2 separate regions of the Homo sapiens genome follow, and region 1 is linked to region 2. The links are contacts of gene promoters, found by promoter capture Hi-C in human tissues and cell types (Jung and others, 2019). All regions are on one chromosome and are shown on one strand. Each heading gives the region's core, a stretch centred on a gene start or on the middle of the fragment in contact. The rest is flanking DNA. Distances are from core to core; before and after follow the strand shown.

Evidence for each region. Contacts are between HindIII fragments. The study calls those that stand out against the background at their distance.
Region 1: a fragment that was not itself captured here is called in contact with the fragment with the promoter of SENP5 in region 2 in 1 of the 25 tissues and cell types used here (hippocampus).

What each region holds. Positions count from the first base shown.
Region 1 is chr3:196,689,995-196,694,023 of GRCh38, forward strand. No RefSeq gene overlaps it. Among named protein-coding and RNA genes, the nearest start is that of CEP19, 20 kb to the right of the region's middle. The HindIII fragment of the contact is 6,798 bases long and covers 1-4,029 here.
Region 2 is chr3:196,866,144-196,869,671 of GRCh38, forward strand. It overlaps SENP5 (SUMO specific peptidase 5), which reads left to right and starts at 1,777. Exons shown (of 10, transcript NM_152699.5): 1 at 1,777-1,930. RefSeq lists a silencer at 1,554-2,133 and an enhancer at 2,785-3,286. The HindIII fragment of the contact is 4,194 bases long and covers 272-3,528 here.

The DNA of each region.
Region 1 (4,029 bases), core at 809-3,308, 180 kb before region 2:
GGCTGAGACAGGATAATTGCTTAAACCTGGGAGGTGGGAGTTGCAGTGAGCTGAGATTGCGCCACTGCACTCCAGGCTGGGTGACAAGAGCGAGACTCTATCTCAAACAAATTAAAAAAAGAAAAAGGAAAATAAATGCAAATTCTTAGGCTCCACCCCAGACTTACTGAATCAGAAATTCTGGGGGTGGAACGCAGCAATCTGCGCTATCGTGAGTCCCACAGATGAGTCTGGTGCATGCTGAAGTCTAAGAACCACTAGCTTGAGTAGAGATTCAAAGTTTGGGTCTCTAGCACAGAAAGACTTTTGCAACAACGAGTCTCGGGAGGCGTAAAGCAAGCAGAGAGGACTGCAGCTGTTAAAAGTAGTCCTAAGAAGATTCTAGGTAGGAGAACTCAAGCGTGGGGAGCTGGGAAACCCCAGCTGGCAGGGAGGGGTCCTACCTGGCGAGCTGCCCCCCAAGGGCCTGCGCTGGTCAAGTGTCTCCCGAAGGGTCTGCCTGCGGGCAGGAGAAACACAGGTGTCCAGGACTAGTGTTCTGACTGATACGTGGCCCTAGGATTTCTCTCCTGGGACCACTTGGAGAGGCAACCCTTGGCTGCCAGAGGAAGAGACTGATGGAGGCAGCAGGACGGGAGGAAGGCCTGTGGGAGGAGGGTGCCAGAGTGGGAAGGGAGCATGTGAGGAGAGTCTTGATGGTTAATGCCAATTACCTCTAGAAAATTACCAGGCTTTACAGACTCAAGAGCTACTACCCAAAAGATTGAAAAAACTGCCTTAAAAAAAAAAAAAGCAACCCACCCCAGGGAAGAGAGAGAGCTATTTAGAAAACTCCAGAAGTAAATAAGCTCAGACAAATCTGAGATTTATCTGGTCTCTGCTCCTGAGTCCTGTCTGAGAATCAGGCACCTAAGAGACGGGGTGTTGTGTCCACCAGAGACGGTGGAGAGGCCGGGCACGGTGGCTCACACCTGTAATCCCAGCACTTCGGGAGGCCGAGGTGGGCAGATCACCTGAGGTCAGGAGTTCAAGACCAGCCTGGCCAAGGTGGTGAGACTCTGTCTCTTCTAAAAATACAAAAATTAGCCAGACTTGGTGGCGCACACCTGTAATCCCAGCTACTCGGGAGGCTGAGGCAGGAGAATCGCTTGAACCCGGGAGGCAGAGGATGCAGTAAGCCAAGATCACGCCATTGCACTCCAGCCTGGGTGACAGAGCGAGACTCCATCTCAAAAAAGAAAAGAGATAGCGAAGAAAGCCATCATCTCTGGTGGTTTGCAGGTTTGATTTTCATAGCAGAACCCTTAATGAAGATCTCAAGTAGAACTCTGAAATGGGAAAAACTTCAACATGTAAGAATTGAGCTGCTGTGGATAAATTAGGAGTCCAGTTCCCACCTCCTTATTCTTTTTATCACTCAGAACAATGACCACTTTTACACCCGACCCCAACCCTAGCTCCCCAGGATGCTGCTCCACAGAAGGCAGCTTGAAAAACGCCAATGGTTAACCTCTCTGGTGCCTTGCTGGGCTGCTGTAGGGACAGCGGGGTCACTGCTTCACAAAGTCACCCTTCCCGTTGCTGGCGGTTTTGATCTTCAGAGAGTTCTGTCTTTTCTTTTTTCTTCTTCTTCTTTTTTTTTTTTTTTCTGAGGCGGAGTTTTATGCTTTTCCCCCAGGCTAGAGTGTGCAATGGCGTGATCTGGGCTTGCTGCAACCTCTGTCTCCTGGGTTCAAGTGATTCTCCTGCCTCAGCCTCCCGAGTAACTGGAATTACAGGTGCACACAACCACGCCCAGCTAATTTTTGGATTTTTAGTAGAGACGGGGTTTCACCATGTTGGCCAGGCTAGTCTCGAACTCCTGACCTCAAGTGATCCACCCTCCTTGGCCTCCCAAAGTGCTGAGATTACAGGCGTGAGCCACCGCGCCTGGCCAGAAAGTTCTGTCTTTTCTTGAGGTGAGAGCTGCTCCCTAAATTTCCAATCACTGTGCCTAGTTTTTCCCTCTAGAAGTAGTAATATATTCTTCTACGTGAAAGATCTGTAAAGAACTAAAGAGCTTTAAGAGCAATCTTTTAACTTTTGCCTTTTCCAGGCAAAAATCTCATCACTTCTTGCAAAGGATTCTCATGTGACATGGTCACTCTCTGTGGGACACACTCCAGTTTGTCAACATCTTTTAAAATGAGGCTCCTGGAAGAAAACATGGCTCCAGACAGGATCTGATCAGGACCTTTCCCCCATCTGAGCACTAACCCTCAATTAATGTAGCGTAGGCTTACATTAGCTTTCTGGGCAGCCAGTCCACAGAGTGTTCATACTGCGACTGCTGCCAATTGGATGCCCTCTGTCTGTTTCACGTTGTTTTTAGGTTAACTGTTTCCTGTCCTGTGCTCTTGCAGTTGGCATTTCTTAATGCAAGTCATGGACTTTACTTGTGTCTCCATAATATCTTGTCCTGTAGGTGTTAGTCCAGTCACTCAAAATATTATAAAATACAGATCTTTTCCTTTTCTTTTTTTTTTTTTGAGATGGAGTTTTGCTCTTGTTGCCCAGGCTGGAGTGCAGTGGTGCAGTCTCAGCTCACTGCAACCTCCGCCTCCTGGGTTCAAGCAATTCTCCTGCCTCAGCCTCCCGAGTATCCAGGATTGCAGGCGTGCACCACCACGCCTGGCTAATTTTGTATTTTTAGTAGAGACGGGGTTCCACCATGTTGGCCAGGATGGTCTCCATCTCCTGACCTAGTGATCCACCCACCTCGGCCTCCCATAGTGCTGGGATTATAGGCATGAGCCACCACGCCCGGCTGGCAAAAGACTTTTTAAAAAAACTTTCACATATTGAACACTTACTCCATGACAGATGCTGTACTATGCATATGGTATCTAACTTCCTCCTTACGCTGGCCCAGTGGAAACAGGTATTAACGTCCCATTTTACAAATGAGAAAACTGGGGAAAGGAACAAAGATGAATGTATCCTGATTTCTGAGGGTCTTTTCGGCTGATGACTGAGCAGGGAGATGTTCTACACACACAGCCATTTAAGCCCCACCCAGCAGTCCTAAGGGAAGAGTTAGGCTCAGCACCGGATGAAAGGCTTGAACCACGGGAGCGAGAGCAGAAGAAAAACTCACTCCTGGTTCCTTCTCCCTAGGGTGACACCTCATCCACCTTTTGAAGAAAGTGGGGCCAGGCATAGGAATGGACCAAGAAAATGAAAAACAGTTAAAGCTGGATTTTAAAAATAAAGCTTATTGAGCATATAATGCTATAAAATGTGCTTGCTCATGCAGTTGTCTTGGATGTAAGACCCTGATATTTGGATACAGTGGCTTTATCAGGATGAAATATTTTTTCTTCCTTGACTTCCACCATGCCCAGTTAATTTTTTGTATTTTTAGTAGAGACGGGGTTTCACCGTGTTAGCCAGGATGGTCTCCATCTCCTGACCTCGTGAGCCGCTGGCCTCGGCCTCCCAAAGTGCTGGAATTACAGGCGTGAGCCACCACGCCCGGCCTTGACTTCCTTTTTTGGTTTTGCGGGAGGGAATGGATTGAGTGAAGGAGGAACCCCACACAGTCTACTCTATCTACACAGCATTTATGACCGTGTGATATTTTTCTTTTTCTTTTTTTTTGCCTATAGTTTCTTGTTGGAAAAAGACACGTTTTCTTGTTGACTGTTGCTCCCCGACAGAAATGTGAGCTCCACGAAAGAAAAGTCCTGGCTTTTCCTCTCTGTATACCTGTTACCCAGAACAGTGCTTGGCACCTGTGAAGTGCTTCAGACATATTCGATCAATAATTAAAGAATGGGTCTATGTATGGCACAGACAACCTAGCGTTTTTAAAAGATGATTTAAAAACAGTGTAAATTCTGAGCAAGGCTCACTCTAGATGTGGAGGTAGTCACGTTTAAATTACAAGAAAAAATTGCAGCCAGGCGTGGTGGCTCACGCCTGTAATCCCAACACTCTGGGAGGCCGAGGCGGGCGGTTCACTTGTGGTCAGGAGTTCAAGCCCAGCCT
Region 2 (3,528 bases), core at 527-3,026:
ACCCGGGAGGCAGAGGCAGAGGTTGCAGTGAGACGAGATTGCGCCACTGCACTCCAGCTTGAGCAAAAAGAGTGAAACTCTGTCTCAATAATAATAATAATAATCTTACATATGTAATTGGTGTCTCGGAGAACAGGCATAGAGAATGCAGCAAAAACCATATCTGAAGAGATAATGATTGAGAATTTCTCAAAACTGATGCAAGACATCTACCCACAAATCAGAGAAACTCAATGATATCCAAGACAGATAAATACAAAGAAAACAAAGATAGGGCACAAAATAAATGGCTAAAAATCACTAACAGGCTGGGTGCGGTGGCTCACGCCTGTAATCCCAGCACTTTGGGGGGCTGAGGCGGGCAGATCACGAGGTCAGGAGATCGAGATTATCCTGGCTAACTTGGTGAAACCCGGTCTCTACTAAAGAAATACAAAAAAAATTAGCCAAGCGTGGTGGTGGACGCCTGTAGTCCCAGCTACTCAGGAGGCTGAGGCAGGAGAATGGCGTGAACCCGGGAGGCAGAGCTTGCAGTGAGCCGAGATGGCGCCACTGCACTGCAGCCTGGGCGACAGAGCGACACTCCTCTAAAAAAAAAAAAAAAATCACTGACAAAGAGAAACTGTTAAAAAGAAGTGAGAGGGCCTGGTGTGGTGGTTCACGCCTGTAATTCGAGCACTGTGGGAGGCCCAGGTGGGAGGATCACTTGAGCTCAGGGGTTCAAGACCAGCCTGGGCAACATAGGGAGATGTCATCGCTACAAAAATAATGATAGTAATAGTAATAAAAAATTAGCCGGGCGTGGTGCAGGAGCCTGTGGTCGCAGGTACCCTGGAAGATGAGGTGGGAGGATCGCTTGAGCCCAGGAGGCAGAGGTTACAGCGAGCCTAGGGTGTGCCACGGCACTCCGGCTTGGGCGAGACAGCAAGACCCTGTTTGGAAAAAAAAAAAAAAGAAAAGAAAAAAGAAAAAAAAATCAACAGTAATTGCAGCCATTGCTTAGAACTAAGACTAAACAAAGCTTTTGTTTGGAAAGGAGTACTTTTTCATTAACATTGTTTAGAATTTTCTGACACATGATGATAATTAAAAGCAAACCATCCTGCAGTTGGCTTCGGTATTGTTTTTATCTTCTCCACCATCAATGCATATCCTTACTGCCTACACAGGCTCTCAGCAACGCACTGTTGGTTTTCCATTGCAGTCACCTCCACTTTATTCTTCCAGATCGAGTATGTTCAAAACTGAACTCATCTTCCGCCATAAATCTGCTATTATTATGTTTTTGCCTGTCAGGACATCGGCTTATAATTTTGGAAAGCATTCACAGTTGGGGCGGGTAAGACATAGATAAAGAGGCCAATCACAATACCAGGGGTAAGATCAATAGGAAAACCAGAGAGCGGACGCCTGGGCCAGGCCTCACAACGTCCAGAGCTGGAATGGGTCTTTTGCTTTCGGCGCAGGGGTGACGGGATCAGCGGAGGGTAGGGGTGTACACTAGCTGCGGTCTGATTTAGCCCTTTTAGGTTAAAAGCTGGAGAAGGGGCTGAAGTCTCAAACGCGCTTAGCAGCTCCTGAACGCGGTTCCCATCCCAGCGCGTTCTGAGGGAGGCCGGGGCTAAGGACGCGGTGACGGGCGGGGGCGGGGCGGCCCCGGGTCGGGAGGCGGGGCGGGAGCGCCGGAAGCGGGCGGTGCCAGGCCCAGCCTCGCAGGCGGAAGGGCGCGGAGGAGGTGACGCGATAGGCCAGCGCCGGCGTCGCGGCAGCCGCTTCAGAGGAAGCTCGGCGGCTGTGGCCGCGGCGAACAGGCCGGACGCCTCGTCGCTGGCGGGGCTTCCCTTGGAGCTGACGAAGGCGGGGTCCGCGGTCCAGGCTGCTGCCGCGACGGGGCCGGCGGCGGGGCAGCTGCCAGGAACGAGGGTAGCAGGTAAGCGGGGACGCGGGCAGACGAGTGACGGACTCAGCGATCGCCTGGCGGGGCTGGCTGGGGCCATTCCCGCGCCGGTGCGCCACCTCAGCGCCCGGTCCGGAGGCCTCGAGCCGCCCTCCCCCGCCCGAGCTGGAGGCCGCCGTCCGTCTCGGCCACAGCCTCCCTTTCCGGGGGAGGCGAGCGAGCTCGTCCCGAGGGGCCGCTGCCCTGCGCTCTCGCTCCAGCCGGGCTGTGCGTCGCAGGCACCGGGAAGCTGGCGCCCCCCAGCTCCTCCTGAAGCCGGGAAAGCTCTGAGAGGAGGAGCCGCTGTCACAGGCCTCCAGCTCCGGCCGCCGTGGAAGTCCGGGGTTTTTATTTGCTTAGACCGCTCTGCCTCCTTCCGGCCTTCGTTTCTTTCCTCGCGCTCCCCGGGACCCTTTTCCAGAGAGCCCGGTTGGGCATGAGCGCGGTGGGAGACGTCTTTTCCCTTCGGTCTGCTCTGAGCGGTATCAGCCTCCGCTCTACGCCCTGTGGCCACTCTGTCGGGGTGGAGGGATGCGGAGAGGATGTGGGAGTTTTGGACTTAGAGCGAGAATAGCCGAGGTGAAATCCTACCCTGCTCTCTGGTAGTGTTTTTCATCTCATGCTAGATAGACATTTCGACCTTTTTCACCGCAGGTAAAGTGGGACTTTCTTCTACCAATGTAAATTATAATGTTTGGAGAATTAAATGAAGAAAGCAGACGTTAGTTATGAAATGTTTTGAGAATCTGGTTAAATTTAATTTAAGAATATCCAGGACACTTCATGATAGGTTCCTACTTATGTTTTTTTTTTGCATTTTGCCCGGAATAACTAAGCTTGGTATGGAAAAGGTTGCCTAGAGATGCCAGGCGCTCGTGTGGTCAGAGCCTAACTGCAGTCTCTGTTTTGGGTGGGCAGCATCAGGAAGAAACCAGACTCTCTCCTAGCCATCCACATGTCTCACGCTTATTGATGGCATATTATTGGTATATGAGGGATGGCTTATATCAGTTTTGATCTTTACTCAAGATAGCTTTTTCCCAGTGCATCTTTTCTAGGAGAAAAGCTTGGTATGTAGAGGAGGGTGCTGGGGAGGGGGGCTTCATTTACACCTGGGCTCACAATTTTTTTTTGGAGGGGGGACAGGGTCTCACTCTGACACCCAGCCTGGAGTGCAGTGGCGCGATCTTTTCAGCTCACTGCAACCTCCTCCTCCCAGGTTCAAGCGATTCTCCTGCCTCAGCCTCCAGAGTAGCTGGGATTACAGGTGCCCGCCATCGCGCCCGGCTAATTTTTGTATTTTTAGTAGACATGGGGTTTCACCATGTTGGCCAGGCTGGTCTCGACCTCCTGACCTCAAGTGATCTACCTGCTTCCGCCTCTCAAAAGTGCTGGGATCAGCCGGGCGCGGTGGTTGACGCCTGTAATCCCAGCACTTTGGGAGGCCGAGGCGGGCAGATCACCTGAGGTCGGGAGTTCGAGATCAGCCTAACCAACATGGTGAAACCCCATCTCTACTAAAAATACAAAATTAGCCAGGCGTGGTGGCGCATGCCTGTAATCCCAGCTACTCGGAAGGCTGAGGCAGGAGA